2 separate regions of the Homo sapiens genome follow, and region 2 is linked to region 1. The links are contacts of gene promoters, found by promoter capture Hi-C in human tissues and cell types (Jung and others, 2019). All regions are on one chromosome and are shown on one strand. The core of a region is centred on a gene start or on the middle of the fragment in contact, and the rest is flanking DNA. Distances in the headings are between cores, read along the strand shown.

Region 1 (5,074 bases), core at 2,475-4,974:
GACAGAGTCTCGTTCTGTTGCCCAGGCTGGAGTGCAGTGGCGTGATCTCAGTTCGCTGCAACCTCTGCCTCCTGGGTTCAAGTGATTCTCATGGCTCGGCCTCCCAAGTAGCTGGAATTACAGGCACGCACCACTATGCCTGGCTAATTTTTGTATTTTTAGTAGAGACGGGGTTTCACCATGTTGCCCAGGCTGGTCTTGAACTCCTGACATCAGGTGATCCACCCACCTCGGCCTCCCCAAGTGCTGGGATTACAGGTGTGAGCCACCGTGCCTGGCCTGCCAGACTCATTCTTTTATGCTGGTCCTGTGCAGCCTGGGCTAACGGTGCCTCCCTAGTCATTTGGTTCATGATCTGTCCCTGCTCACCTGGGCTGATGGTGCCTTCTTGCCCACCTGGGCTGGCCATGCCTCCCTGCCTCCTTCTTTTTCCTTGCCTCAGTGGGCCTTGTCGGGGGGGCAGTGGTAGAAGCAAGGAAGAACAAAGGCTCCTTTCTCCCTTTGACCTGATGTTGTAATAATGATAAACTTGTCAACTCATCTCCGACAGCCAATCCAACCATAGACCCTAGAAAAATAGGAGTTTAGAATTAAAAAAACAACCTTGATCAGCCAAGGATATGGTTGGATGAAGGCAGAAGGAAGCTCATAGCATAGAGAGACACACTAAAAATAAAAGCAACAAAAACAGAGCACACATAGGGCACGCACCTGTTGTCCCAGCTACTTGGAGGGGATGAGGCGGAAGGGGGTGCTGAGGCGGGAGGATCACCTGAGCACTGGGAGGCTGCAGTGAGCCATGATTGCACCACTGCACTCCAGCCTGGGCAACAGAGTGAGACCCTGTCTCAAAAAAGAAACCAAAAACCAAAAACAACAACAACAAAAACCCACTGCCACCACCACCAACAAAAGCAAACCCAAACAAACAATGTGCCTCCCAAATCCAAGAAGAAGACTCATGTTCAAAGGTGACGGAAAATTTCAGGTTTGAAGTAGACAAGGAGTCAGAAAATAGGCAACACTACTGACCACACCTGATTCTGGGTCCAGTATGTCCTTGGCAGTGTGCTGTACAGCGGAGGGAGGGGACCCTCTCTCTAGAAATATGCCCTCGTTGGCAGATGGCCTTGCTTCTCCAAGAGGCCATCATCTGATCTGACCCCCGTATTGCCTTAATTACTCACTTTCACACCAATTCTCAACACCAGCCAGGTCAACAGGTTGCTGGCCAGTCCAGGCTCTTGCCTGAGCGAAAGGCAAAACCAGGGCAAAGCTTCAGATGTGATGGGTGGATACGCTGCACAGCAGTTCTGCAGAGGGGCTGCTGGCATCACAGCTTCACAGACGCAGTATGTGCACTGTATTTTAAGGAGCTGTGTGAGGCAAGGAACGCCCCAGAGCTCTCCTGGGAAGCCCCAAATGCTCACCGCAGGGCAGTGAGACCCGTGGGGCTGGGAGCTGCCAGGAGTGGTGGGCCCTCTGCATTTCACTGTGCTCTCCCGCAAGCACTCCTCTCTCTGACTCTCCAGGGCCCCTCTTTGGGCAGTCTTCCCCTCCCCCTTGGCCCAGGCTTTCTCTGAGCTCCTTCCTGCTCCAGTTCCCCTCGCCTGGGCTCATCCAGTCCTCCCAGGCTTCCGTGACAGCCTGACATTTTAGTCTCTGCCTGCCTGCAGCTCCCTGATTCTTTCTGGGTCTCCCAATTCAGATTCCCAAGAAAAAATTCAGATGACTGAGTTTGTGTTTTCCTGCCAGTTTGATGTCAGGGGTCCTGCCTGGGCTTGTAAAGGGTCTTGGTCTCCTCAGCAGAGGTGGGGCCTTGTGATTTACAAGGTGGCCCTTTCCGCAGGGCTGGGAGTCAGCAGGTGGGCGTCACTGGTTTAGCAAGGACAGAAGAGTAGGTTTCTCATTTTTGCAAAGAAATGGTCCATAAGCTGGAGATTGAAGCATTTTTCCTCCAGTTCCCTCACTAACCAGCTGGGTGGCAATGATAAATCACTTCCTTTTCCTATAAAATGAGGGGTCTGAATAGATGCTAATGCCATTTGCTACACACCAGGCACTGCTCCAACTACTGCAGGCACATTTATTGCCGAATCCCCACAAAGGAGGTGCTATCACTAACTCCTTTTAAAGAAAGGAGGCGGCCAGGTGCGGCGGCTCACGCCTGTAATCCCAGCACTTTGGGAGCACGAGGCGGGAGAATCGCTTGAGTCCAGGAGTTTGAGGCCAGCCTAAGCAACATGGTGAAAACCTGTATCTACAAAAAGTACAAAAATTAGCAGGGCGTAGTGGCATGCGACTGTGGTCCCAGCTACTTGGGAAGCTGAGGCAGGAGGATTGCTTGAGTCCAAGAGAAGTGAGCTGAAATCGTATCATTGCACTCCAGCCTGGTGACAGAGAGAGACCCTGTCTCAAAAAAGAAAGAAAGAGAGAAAGAGAGAAAGAAAAGAAAGAGAGAAAGGAAGAAAGAAAGAGAAAAAAGAAAAGGAAGGAAAGCTGAGGCACAGAGCGCTGAGTTGCCCATGGTCACACAGTTAGCAGGTGGCACAGATCCTGTCTAGTTTCAGAATCCTTGTCCTTGAACATGCTTTGCTCTCTCTCTGAGATTCTTTCAGCTCTTGAGCTTTAGAAATGGAAGTTTCCAGCAAGTTCTTTGCAGCAGCTGATGTTCCCTATTAAATGACAGTGGGGAGTCTTAGAAGTATTCGGGAGGCCTACGTTCACCGCTAACATCCTTGTTGTGAAGGCCTGCTGACGTTTGCCATTCCAGGACCAAGTGGACAATGAGTTAAGCTAGGCCAGGAGGGGGTTCAGCTCCCCATAACAAGGCAGGGGTGGCCCTTTGTGTCCGGCAGCATGGTAGCCCCCCCGCAGGAGCTCCGGCTACCCTTTGTGTTTGACCTTGTGGAAGGGCATGGGAAATGCTGGCCTGTCAGCAGGCATAAACTCAAAAGTTTCTCCTTCAGCTAATTTCAGGGACTGTCTAGCCAAGTGAATACACAGGATTAGGTAATCCATGGATCCTGCGAGGGCAATTGGCTGATTGGCTTAGGTGTGCCCAAGAGCCCTGCAGGTGTCAGAACAAATCCATGTAGAAATGCAGACGCCCACACCAGCTTGAATGGCATAAAGGCACACATTGGAATGTGGCTCATGAGCTGGGACCCAGGATCAACCACTGGTTTAAGGAGAGGACCGTGAAATGTCCAAACATGGAGGCCAGGCCACCTCCCTGGATGCCTGGCTGAGGGCAGCCACATGTCTGCAGCGGTGGCTTGTGTCCATGACTGAGATGGGCAGGGTTTGCAGGCAGTGGTGATCCCATCAGCAGTCCCCAGATCTCTAATGTCAGGAGAAAGAGCATGGGAAGTCCGACGTCCAGGAAAGTCTTTCATCCTGCTTCTCCCTGCCTTGGGCCTTTTCCCATTTCCGCGGTCACCTGTCCACAATGGCTGCACTGTGTGGCTCTTCAGGTGTTCCTAAGACACTGAACAACCAAACCCATGGACTGACCGGATATGAAATTGACGTGGGAGGAGATCAGGCAGGTGCTGGGGCTGCCTGGCGCAATGCACGGAGCCAGAAGTGCTGTTATGGGGAGGGTGTTATTGTTTTAGTGGGTGCAGCAAAGGGTGGTTTAGCCAGCTGGGCAGATCAATTGTAAATTGTTATTTACAGTTTCTGAGCCTTTAAAAGAAGAGCTTCGCCGGAATCAGTCTTCATTACAGATGTGCAGCACCATGAGGGCCCTGGTGCTTCTGCTGTCCCTGTTCCTGCTGGGTGGCCAGGCCCAGCATGTGTCTGACTGGACCTACTCAGGTGAGCCCCTAGCTTCTGCATGCTCCCCCAGTTACCCTCACACCCTTACAACAGGACAAGTGCCCTTCTTCTTCTTCTTTTTTTTTTTTTTAGACAAAGTCTTGCTCTGTTGCCCAGGCTTGAGTACAGTAGTGTGATGTTGGCTCACTGCAACCTCCGCCTCCCGGGTTCAAGTGATTCTGCTGCCTTAGCCTCCCGAGTACCTGGGATTACAGGTGCCTGCCACCATGCCTGGCTAATTTTTGTATTTTTAGTAGAGACAGGGTTTCACCATGTTGTCCAGGCTGGTCTCGAACTCCTGACCTTAGGTGATCTGCCCATCTCCCAAAGTGCTGGGATTACAGGCATGAGCCATTGCGCCCGGCCAAGAGTCCTCCTTTAGGGCATTTCACAGGATGGCCAGGCAGCCCACTTGCCATATGTTGGGGGTCTGCTCATTGTGGCTTCAGATGTTACCTTTTCAGTGTCTCAGAAGGTATGGAGAATAAGCTGAACTTAAACTTCAAATAAGGAAAAGAAGGAAATAGCTTTCCCCTTCACAAACTCCTGATTTACTTACAGGCTTTTTGCTTTAAATTTTTTTCCATCCACAGTGTTGGCTGGTTCAAAAGCACACTCACTGCTTCTATTTGTAAAACCATTTGCTTTGTTGGTCCGTGTAAGTGGAAAACAAAGTTCTTAGAAAAGACTCTCGGTAACCTCACGGAAGGTGCTGTGGGGTTTGCGAGACCTTCTTTCTTGGAAATTTCATGGTAGGCAGTTTACCCAGAACATCTTGACATAAGGACCCAGTTCCCTTTGATCTGTGGGCTGCCAAAATGAGAGGTGTTTTTTTTTTTGTTTTTTTTTTTTTTTTGAGACAGAGTCTTGCTCTGTTGCCCAGGCTGGAGTTCAGTGGTGCCATCTCGGCTTACTGCAACCTCTGCCTCCTGGTTTCAAGCGATTCTCATGTCTTAGCCTCCCAAGTAGCTGGGATTACAGGCACTCATCACCATGCCTGGCTAACTTTTGTATTTTTAGTGGAGATGGGGTTTTACCACGTTGGCCAGGCTGTTCTCAAACTTCTGACCTCAAGTGATCCGCCCACCTTAGCCTCCCAAAGTGCTGGGATTACAGGCGTGAGCCACCGCGCCAGGCCCCAAACCAGACTTTTAAAATGTGAAATGTAAAATCCTGGCATTCAACATGGGTTCTGGTCCACATGTGAGCCAAAGCTAGAAGGCCGTGTCTGTGGACTTTGTGGACACTAAAC
Region 2 (4,825 bases), core at 514-3,013, 150 kb after region 1:
GACTCAAAACTCATTCAACTAGCCACCAGCAAATCCTCATCATGCTGTGCTCACATGTGTGAAAGGATTACATCACGACTTGCTAATCCCAAGAAGGCTGAAAGACTCATCTGAAACTATATGTTTTGATCTTCAAAAATATGGACTAGGCGTGGTGGTTCACGCCTGTAATCCCAGCATTTTGGGAGGCAGAGGCAGGTGGATCACAAGGTCAGGAGTTCAAGACCAGCCTGGCCAACATGGCTAAACCCTGTCTCTACTAAAAATACAAAAATTAAATTAGCCAGGTGTGGTGGCGCATGCCTGTACTCCCAGCTGCTAGGGAGGCTGAGGCAGGAGAATTGCTTGAACCTGGGAGTTGGAGATCGCGATGAGCCGAGATCGTGCCACTGTACTCCAGCCTGGGTGACAGAGCAAGACTCCGTCTCAAAAAAAAAAAAAAAAAAAAAGAATAAATACCCCAATGTTGTTCTCTCCTACTCTGAGACCCTGCTAGTGAAACTGCCACTGCAAAATTATGACTGAGACGGTGAAAGAGATCTGACCTAACCAACTCCATCTTCCTTCTGACCTCCAAGCTGTTCTTGTTCATTCCTGGGCATGGGCTGAACTAATCTGGGGAGGAACTTAGTTTATAGTTTAGAAAAAAGAAGATAGCAGCCCTTTTCTCAAGGTAGATCCCCTTCTTGTTAGCCAAAAGATTAGAAAGTATGGTTTAGCAGTCATGCAGCTGAGGATTCAAGATTCTGACCCTCCCCAAATTGCTCCTAGGCATAACATCACTATTGTAAAACCTAAGGTCAGTGCCTGAGATATTTTGCAGGCCCTGCACTTGATGGATCAGCTGGCACCAAATCGATAAACTGGCCCATCTCATCTTGTGGCCCTCACCCAGGAACTGACTCAGCACAAGAGGACAGCTTCAACTCCCTATGATTTAATCTCTGACCCAGCCAATCAGCACTCCCGACTCACTGGCCCCTCCCCACCCACCAAATTATCTTTAAAAACTCGATCCCCAAATGCTCTGGGAGACCGATTGGAATAATAATAAAACTCTGGTCTCCCACACAGCTGGCTCTGTGTGAATCGCTCTTTCTCTGTTGCAATTCCCCTGTCTTGATAAATCGGCTCTGTCTAGGCAGCGGGCAAGGTGAACCCACTGGGCGGTTACACTAGGGCCCTGCAATAGGAGTGCCTTTCACTTCCCTGGTAAGCACCAGCTTTGTCCTGTGTACAGGCAGTGCCAACTCCATGGGCCTGTGACCCGTGCAGTTTCCAGGATCCTGCCCGCAGAAGGGCAACTTCATATCTGGCCTGGCACAGGGTAAGCACTCAGGAAACGCCAGCTATTAGCTAGTGACAACGTCCTGACCCCACCACATCTGGCAAATCCTTTTCCTCGTGGAGCCTGGATTCTGGACTCTCCTCCCACAGGTGAGTAATTGTTACTAGACACGCATGCTTCATTCAGAAAGTGGTCCACCTTGCCCCCAAAGCTTCCCCTGCTGGAGCTTTTCCTATGTGCAAGGCCTAAGCCTCAGCTGCATGCTGGGCTGACCCTTGGATACAGCCTGACTCTGTGCCAGGAGCCTGGCAGGCTCTGGGGAAAATGCCTGGTAGAGTGGTCCCTGGAACGTATGGTTTCTGCAGAGACTGTGGCATCCCAAAGACCCGCTTAGAAGTCTATGGGAGCAGAAGGAGGTGACCCTGTGGGGTGTGAGCTGCATATAGGCAGAAGCAGGAGGTCAGGCAAGAGGGAACGGTGTGGAGTGGTGTGGAGCAGTGTGGAACACGGAGCCTGGATTCTGAATGCATGCTGCATTTGCTGGGGTGAGGAAGGCGAAGAGAACTCCGGAGAAGAGGTCAGGGAAGAGGTGAAAAAAGGTCACTGAGGGGAGACAGATGGAAAGGGAAAGGCGCATGGCAGTTGATGAGTGGAGGGTCACAGGAGAGGGCCTCAAGGGGATGCTTCCATTTTCTCCCAGGTAAGCACATAGCATCAAGTTTAGAGATGCAAAGACAAAGGCAGGAGAGAATAGTTAACAAACCTCAGGGTGGTCGCGTCGAAGTAGCAGGACCAGGCCTGCTATTTTAATATTACTTAAGTTTGTGTATGTTGTACCTTAATAACCAAATTCAAGATGCCACTTCTAGGGGCTATTCAATGCAGTTTGTGTTGTTGTTTTGTTTGTTTTTTGAGACTTGCTCTGTCACCCAGGCTGGAGTGCAGTGACGTGATCTCGGCTCACTTCGATCTCTGCCTCCCGGGTTCAAGCCATTCTCCTCAATGCAGTTTTAACTGCACAAAATCCAGACAGTGGAAGAAAGTTTAGGAGCTTTTGGCAGCAAAATTCCCAAGGCGGAGCAGTTTCAAGAAAACTATGACCGGAGGTGGGGCTGCATGGCCAGTGCAGATCTGCAAGTCACGCAGCAAGGCAGCCAGCTCCAGTAGATGCGTTTGGAAGGCTGCTCCCTTCCAAGAAGAGACCCTGTGTCCCAGCAGTCCCTGACCACCAGGAGGCCTGCAGATGCAGCTGCGGCGGGTCACCCTGTGTGTGATACAACCATGCATGAAGGGTGAAGGGGTCAGCAGCTCAGCCCTGGAGCATCTCTCTTAATCAAGTTCAGCCCCAAGTCATGGGTGCTTGGAACTTGGACCTGTTGACCCTCATCGGCTCTATCTAGGCAGCAGGCAAGGTGAACCCACTGGGCGGTTACACTAGGGTCCTGCTATAGGAGTGCCTTTCATTCCCCTGGTAAGCACCAACTTTGTGGACAAAGCCCAGGAATCTGTATTCTAAAACCCTCTCCCTATCTCTCCACCCCCATGATCTTTATTAGGTCAACTCAGGGGAAGCTGGCTATGCCAACAGGGCGGCTGCCTCTTTAGCTAATTTGCCAAGAGAGAAGGGCAGAGCTGTCTTCTCCAGGTCTCAGCCTCATGGTAGGCTCTGGAACCACAGCAACACAGGCCAATGCGAGCCACCTGTCCTGCAACCGCCCCCTCCCCACCCTGCACAACACATCAGGAGGCAATCACTTTACCAAACACATAGGAGAAAAATAATTTATTTATTTAATTTAAAACAGCAAGACTTCAGCTTCCACCCAGTCAGGGCTTGCATTACAATTTTGCAGGTGCAAAAACTCACACTTTTGATGCCACAACTAGAAGTTTGTAAAAACTATTTTTCTTGTCGTGGACACGTGAAGAGTTCTGTTTGCACCCTCAGCCTGGGCCAAATAATCATCTTTATTTAAAAACAAAACAGAACAAACAAACCAAAAAACCCTCAAAAGCACAAAGAGGCAGAAAGCGGCTGGTAAACCTGGTTAAAAGACCAAAGTTCAGAAAGTGCATGGGAGAGGGACGCTGAGCTGCGGACACCGTTCCGGCTGCAGTACGTGTTATGGCTGAGGTTACACTTGGGTGACTCAGGGATGCAGGCAGATGAACATTAACCACACTAACAGAGGAGAAAGAAGCCCACTGGGGCTGTGCAAAGTGTCCAAGGAGCACAGCCCCTTTTGCCCTGATCAGATGTAACAGCCCCTCGCTTGAGATCTGACTGGGCAACATGGCAAAACCTTGTCTCTACAAAAAGTCAAAATTTAGCCAGGCCTGTGGTCCCAGCTTCTCAGGGAGCTGAGGTGGGAGGATCGCTTGAGCCTGGGAGGTGGAGGCTGCAGTGAGCCATGATTGCATCACTGCACTCCAGACTGGGTATGATGCTCCAGACAGCAAAACCCTGCCTCACAAAAATAAATAAACTAAAAAGAAGTAACAGCCCCTCCTGGACTTGTTTTATTTTTTGAGATGGAGTCTTGCTCTGTCACCCAGGCTGGAGTGCAGTGGTGCAGTCTCGGCTCACTGCAACCTCTGCCTTCTGGGTTCAAGCAATTCTCCTGCCTCAGCCTCCTGAGTAGCTGGCACTACAGGCACACGAAACCACATCCAACTATTTTTTTTTTTTTTGTATATTTAGTAGAAACAGGGTTTCACCATGTTGGCCAGGCTGGTCTCAAACTCCTGACCTCAGGTGATCTGCCCACCTTGGTCTCCCAAAGTGCTGGGATTACAGGCGTGAGCCACTGCGCCTGGCCCCCTCCTGGACTTTTAGGATGTGACTTCCTTCCCATCCAGCCTTTCTGTCTGAGCACTACCCACCCAGCTAGACTGACTTGGTAACTGGATCTAAGAAGGAGGCGATATTGCTGTTTTCGAGGTCGATGGGCCAGGGGCCTGGGCTAAGGCACTTAGACAAGCCCCTGCCCTGCCCACCTGGTCACCACCATTCACAGTGATCACTCATCTGTGGCAAGAGGTGGGCAGCGGAGGAAGCTGACTAGAGATACCTGATGTATAACTTTTTGGAGGTTTTTACAAAAGCAGATACAGTGGCCAGTGGCATCAAAGAAATGGAATGAGAACTTGAGCCCAGGCACCCGGAGCAGGTATTTTCTGAGCCCTCAGCTCCCTCTACAGGCCTTTCCTGACCACAGCCAGTCCATCTGGGGAGCCATGTCTCAGCTCTGGCTTGGGTACAGCAGGGAGGGCTCCAGAGGCCCCTGCTGAGCAGGGTTGATCCTAACACTATTCCTCTGTGGCCTATATTGTCTTTTCTCTTTTACCTGTTAATCATGTTCTCTTTTGCAGCAAGCAAATTCCTGAATTTTCGCTCCCTTCTAGAAGCTCAAGTGAGGGTCTTTACCAGAGACATACCCAGAGATTTGCTGTAACGTCTTCAGGGGAATCCAGAATTCACTTACAGAGGCTATTTCTGCCAAGTGGCTTTCCCTGGAGCAGCCCAGAGCTCTCTTT

What was found. Contacts are between HindIII fragments. The study calls those that stand out against the background at their distance.
Region 2: a contact is called between a fragment that was not itself captured here and the fragment with the promoter of CA6 in region 1, in 3 of the 25 tissues and cell types used here (bladder, lymphoblastoid cells and spleen).

Annotation. Positions count from the first base shown.
Region 1 is chr1:8,942,144-8,947,217 of GRCh38, forward strand. CA6 (carbonic anhydrase 6) reads left to right here and starts at 3,725. Exons shown (of 8, transcript NM_001215.4): 1 at 3,725-3,822. The coding sequence starts at 3,744. The HindIII fragment of the contact is 10,958 bases long and covers 142-5,074 here.
Region 2 is chr1:9,097,249-9,102,073 of GRCh38, forward strand. It overlaps GPR157 (G protein-coupled receptor 157), which reads right to left. Exons shown (of 4, transcript NM_024980.5): 4 at 3,057-4,825. Among named protein-coding and RNA genes, the nearest start is that of GPR157, 29 kb to the right of the region's middle. The HindIII fragment of the contact is 3,861 bases long and covers 1-3,694 here.